Linked DNA regions of Homo sapiens: region 2 is linked to region 1. Evidence: promoter capture Hi-C in 16 types of primary human blood cells and fetal thymus (Javierre and others, 2016). All regions are on one chromosome and are shown on one strand. Each heading gives the region's core, a stretch centred on a gene start or on the middle of the fragment in contact. The rest is flanking DNA. Distances are from core to core; before and after follow the strand shown. Region 1 holds the start of ATG16L2 (autophagy related 16 like 2). Region 2 overlaps ARAP1 (ArfGAP with RhoGAP domain, ankyrin repeat and PH domain 1).

Region 1 (2,700 bases), core at 134-2,633:
AACTCAGTGTAGGGGCAGGAAAGTTCTCCTGGAGGAGGTGATGCATGATTAGGAGCCAGGCCCCCTAGAGGCGACGATGTTCCAAACATCAGGCTCGGCCTGTGCAAAGGCCATGGGCGTCTAAGACAATGACATGTGGGGGACTGAGCCCAGCTCACTGGAAGCAGAGCAGGCTACACTGACCTGGGGGCGTCTAGGCCTTCACTGCTTTCTACGTCCTCTGACCCATCCCCATCAGAATCTCAACAGACTCGTCACCTCCAGGGCCTGCACTGCTCTCCCATCGTTGCCCAACTTCTCTCGTTCCCTAGGGATGTTCAAGTCTGCCAACACTCAGAGGGCAGGGCCTGCTGGCATGCCCCAGGGTGAGGCTGTGCCCAGCGAGTCCCTCCTTTCGTGTCTCACAGTAGCCTGAGCCTGCAGAGCTGGCTCTCTAGCATCTAGCTAGAGACGGTTTGACCACAGTTCCCTGCGACCCATGATTCACTTTCGAGGGTACCCACAAGAGATGTGTCTGCTCCTCCAGACGCCGCCCAATGGGGTGAAGCGTCTGGCCCTGAGTCAGGATGCTGGGGTGCTGGCCGTCTCAGCTACCCACTCCTTTGCAACCCCAGGCAAGCAAGCTCGTTCTCTCCTCCCGGCCAGGGGCTTTCTAGATGAAATCAGCTGCACCCCTTTACTCTCAGGGACCTAAAATTTCGGCGACCATGTGGAGCCGTAAACCCTTCTGCCTCCTGTCCTCCCAGCCCCGCACCCACCTGGCGTTTTCGTGTCACGGAACCTCTGCACGTGCTCTTCTCGAGGCCTAGAGTCCCTCTCTCCCTCTGGCCAACTCCTATTTCATCCCTCACAGACCCAACTCGAACGCCATCATCCCCGGAAAGCGGGGATTCCTCCCTTCAGTCTCTGCTTCCTTATCTTGCTGTCCTGCTGCGCCGCGCCCTCAGTGTACGCGCAGAGCCCGGGGCTGAGGGCCTCTGGGTCCCTGGCTGGGTGCGCGGCCAGGAGCGCGACGGCCTGGGAAGCACCAGCGGCTCTCGAACTCGGCCCGGGCGCGGCGGGGTTAAGACACCCGGGCCTTGAGGGCCCCGCCTCCGGAGCGCTCCACCCGCGTGGGGGAAGCCTCCCCGGAGGCTCCGACCTCGCTCCTGCTTATGACCCTCGCAGCCACAGGAGCCCCCACTTAGGTGAACATTTCGGACGGGGCCCCGGCGGTTCAGACCCGGAGGCGGCTCCTCCCGGAGGCAGATCCTCCCGGCGTCGGCCTTCGGTCCTCCCCGCCAAAGCCCTCTTGGGACAAGCCGGGGATTCCCCGCCGCCGCCCGCCCCCTGGCGTCACGGAGTCCCCGCGAGGCCCCGCCCCGGCCTGGCGCCGTCCTGGGCGGGAGGAACGCGCCGCTAGGCGGGAGAGCGCGGCCATGGCGGGGCCGGGCGTCCCCGGTGCCCCCGCAGCGCGCTGGAAACGCCACATCGTGCGGCAGCTGCGGCTTCGGGACCGTACGCAAAAGGCGCTTTTCCTGGAGCTGGTGCCGGCCTGTGAGTGCGCCCCGGTGCTGAGAGGATGGCGGCTGAGGGGACGCGGCTACGGGCGCGGGGAGAGGGTTTGGCTGGCTCCTCCGCCTGTGACCCGAGTGCGCTGTGCCTTATGCCTTGAGCCTGTGCGTTACGCCCATCCCGACTGCCAGGACTCCGCCCCTTGCCATCCAGGCTCTGGTTAGAACCTGGACGAGCCCCTCCTGGTCCCCCTGCCCTCGTCGCCCCTCAGGACGGGCTCTGCCTCCCACAAGCTGGGCTTCCGAGACGCAAGTGCGTCCTCGGGTGTTGGTTTTGCAGGGTCTCTTTTGCCTCCCCACCCGGGCAGTCCCCGGGGTAGGGGCTTGATCAGTGCACTTAGTCTCGGTAGCGCAGTGAAAGAACGCGGGACTTGTCCAGAGCAGCCACTTATTGGCCCATCCGGAGAGGGGCGACACTCGGAACCTCTAAGGAGGAGGCTGTGCATCTCAGGCTCTGCCGCTGACAGGCGACGCTGGCACAGGCTTATGGAACACCTCCCTGTCAGCCTACCCAGCCTGAGGGGGCATCAGGGGGCCCCGGGCTGCTGGTGGATGCTGGCTGAGCCCAGCGAAGTCGGACTCTCAGAATTGTTTCTGGGCAGCTGGTCAGGATAGGGTGTGGCATTTCAAGAGGGGATGAACAGGTGTGCCTGTGTGTCGCACCTCTGGCCGCCTGCGATTGTATGTCTGTGGTTGGAAGTCTAACCACAATCCCTGCGGCTCTCTCACTGGGGCTAATCTTGGCCAAACCCCCACAATCAAATCTGCTCTTAGCCAGGAAAATTTCTCTGCAAGCTTCCAGGCTGCTGGTCCTCTACCTTCAGGGTTGCGAGGCCAGCCCCCACCTCCAGCAGCCACACTTCTCCACTGCTCAGACAGACAGTGGAACCGTCCAGTTTGAGGGAGGGGGTCACCGCCCCCCCAACCCCTGCCCCCCGCCCCGACCCAGGGAGCTGTGAGTCTGAGGGACTAGAGAGATCTGGAGGGCTGAAATCAGACTGAAGGGCCAGTCTTGAAACCTTGGGCAGATCACATCGCTAAGCCTCAGTCTTCTTACTTGTTAATTGGGTATAGAGACCTTCTTTAGGTTTGCTGGGTGCTGCAGTACCCTGGGGGCTGAGGTGGGGTTTTCATGAGAACTAGGCCA
Region 2 (2,700 bases), core at 63-2,562, 83 kb before region 1:
TAAAAAGCACCATAAGCAAAGCCAAGAGCTAAACAACAAACTAGGGGATATCTGCCACTCATATTCCACACAAAGGGCTCATTTTCCTAAAAGTTGAAAAGCATGCAGAAATAAGAAACGGATCAATAATCTAACAGAAAAATGGGCAAAGAGTATGAATGAAAAAATTTACAAAAAGGAAAATATAAATGGCTCTTAAATATCTGAAAAGGAACTTAACCTCCCCCACACTAGGAAATATGAATGTAAAATATTTTGAAATACTGCTTTCTACCTATCAGATTGTCAAAGAGCAATAAAGTTGGAAAATACAGGCATTGGTGATGTGGTAGGGCATCCCTTCCCTGGCTGTGGAATGCCTCTAGGCATGAAAGCCCTAAGAGATGCAGATGTCTGGGCTGGGCGCGGTGGCTCACACCTGTAATCCCAACACTTGAGGTCAGGAATTCGAGACCAGTCTGGTCAACATGGTAAAATCCCGTCTCTACTAAAAATACAAAAAGTTAGCCAGGCACAGTGGCAGACACCTGTAATCCCAGCTACTCAGGAGTCTGAGGTGCAGGAGAATCGCTTGAACCCAGGATGTGGAGGTTGCAGTGAGCCGAGATCACACCATTGCATTCCAGCCTGGGGGACACTTTGTCCTCCCGCCTCCCCCAAAAACAGAGATGCAGATGGCTGACCCAGCCACCCATAGGCACTTAGCCTGCATTTTTACTGGCACCTGCCAGAATTGACATATATAGAAGGTTACTAGCTACAGTGCCTGTGTTTAATAGCAAAAGAATGGAAATAACCAAAATGGCCATCAATGGGAGAATAGTTAACTAAATTATGTTGTAGTTGTGCAATAGAATACTGAGCGGCCATAAGAATGAGGAAACTCCTCACATATTGACATGGGATGATCTATAAGATACACTGTTAAAGGAGTAAAGAAAAGTGCAGAACAGTTTGTGTAACATTCTCTCTCTGTGAAAAAAACAAGGGGGAGCATGGAGTAGTGTGCAGCTACTGGTAAATGAACAAAGTATCTCTGAAAAGACACATGAGGGCAAGGTGACAACAGTTATCAGCTTCCTCCTAGGACGAAAACTAAGGCCTGAAGGGACAGGAGGGAACAGTGGAAGATGCAGAGTTCACAGGGCCTGAAGTTCATGGGACCTGAAGCTTACACAATTTAAGTGCCCTCTGATATGGTTTGGATGTTTGTCCCCTCCAAATTTCATGTTGAAATGTGACCCCCAATGTTGGAGGTGGACCTAGTGGGAGGTGTCTGGGGTCACGGGGACAGATCCCTCATGAATAGCTTGGTGCCCTCCCCATGGTAACAAGTGAGTTATCACTCTATTTGTTCATGTAAGAGCTAGCTGGTTAAAAGAGCCCGGCTTCTCTCTTGCTTCCTCCCTCACCATGTGACATGCCTGCTCCCGCTTTGCCTTCTGCCCTGACTAAAAGCTTCCTGAGGCCTCACCAGAAGCTGAGCAGATGCTGGTGCCATGCTTATACAGCCTGCAGAGCCCTGAGCCAAATACACCTCTTTTCTTTATAAATTACTCAGGGTATTCCTTGATTGCAATACAAAACAGACTAACACATTCTCCTTAAGAGTATCTCACTTTTGCAAAATTCACAAAAACACATGACCACATGCACACACTGTTCAGGACCCTCTTTAGATCCTGGAAGGAGCCCTGCACCTCAAACTCCAGCTTCCCTGGAAATCCACCTCTGAGGAGAGGGAGACTTTTCACTTCAACATATAAAGATGTCAGTTCCTCCAGGGTTAAGCTAAAACTTTAACACCATCCCAACTAAAATTACCAGCTGGAATTTGTTGAGACCAGCAGATTCTAAAGTTCATATAAAATGATATTAGAGATGTGTTAAGTGGAAAAGCAAGATGCAGAACAGTGTTATGTAAACATCTCGGTTAAAGAAAAAGAAAAAAATATACATATGTTATATATATATGCAAATATAAACACAGAAAACTGGACGGATATATATAAAACTGAGTTTGGGGAGGGGAATTGACAGCTGGGAAGACAGGAGACACTATACCCTTCTGTATCTTTTAAATTTTGTATCATTTTCCAAAAAGTAAATAAAAATTAAAAGGGAATGTGATAACCATGAATAGAGCCTGAGAATGAGAAAGGGAACAAAACTTGCCAGGCAGGGAGGGGAATCCAGTGAGGAGATACATAAACACAGACCTGCAATTCAGCCTGCTGGCCCCTGCCTTGTCCCTCTGTCTCGTACCCCCACCCTGTTCCAAGGTTCCAAGGCCTGCTGGGAGGCTCGTAGCAAGCTCTCTGGGCCTCACCCTCTGCCTCTCAAGCTCAGTTCTCAAAATGGAAAATGGGCTATCAGGTGTCAGCCTCCATCAAGCCTTCCCCGACCTCAATGTTAAGGCCTAGCGTGCCACAGCCAGCCCTGTTCCCACCGCTCCACCTCCTGACTCACCAGCTGGGCTGCCAAGGACGCCCGGGTCCTCCCAGAGACAGCAGCTATTCTGAAGGGCTCCTCATCTCGGCCTGAGGCGGGAGCTGCAAGGACAGGGATGGAGGAGAAAGCCCGTGAGGCAAGGCCACTATGAGATGCCAGAGAAGGAGAGGGGAAGAGGGAGAGGGACAGGGAAAAGGAAAGAAGAAATGGGGGCCAGGCACAGTAGCTCACGCCTGTAATCCCAGCACT

Evidence for each region. Contacts are between HindIII fragments. The CHiCAGO score rates a contact against its expected background, and 5 or more counts as called.
Region 2: a contact is called between a fragment that was not itself captured here and the fragment with the promoter of ATG16L2 in region 1, in 13 of 17 cell types (megakaryocytes, total CD8 T cells, M1 macrophages and 10 more). The highest score is 9.2, in megakaryocytes.

The regions. Positions count from the first base shown.
Region 1 is chr11:72,813,028-72,815,727 of GRCh38, forward strand. ATG16L2 (autophagy related 16 like 2) reads left to right here and starts at 1,384. Exons shown (of 18, transcript NM_033388.2): 1 at 1,384-1,536. The coding sequence starts at 1,419. It overlaps LOC107984421 (a long non-coding RNA gene), which reads right to left and starts at 1,040. Exons shown (of 3, transcript XR_007062771.1): 1 at 1-1,040. RefSeq lists silencers at 537-626, 1,027-1,476 and an enhancer at 2,007-2,156. The HindIII fragment of the contact is 2,352 bases long and covers 1-2,346 here.
Region 2 is chr11:72,730,046-72,732,745 of GRCh38, forward strand. ARAP1 (ArfGAP with RhoGAP domain, ankyrin repeat and PH domain 1) reads right to left here. Exons shown (of 35, transcript NM_001040118.3): 2 at 2,470-2,552. Among named protein-coding and RNA genes, the nearest start is that of ARAP1, 21 kb to the right of the region's middle. The HindIII fragment of the contact is 288 bases long and covers 1,169-1,456 here.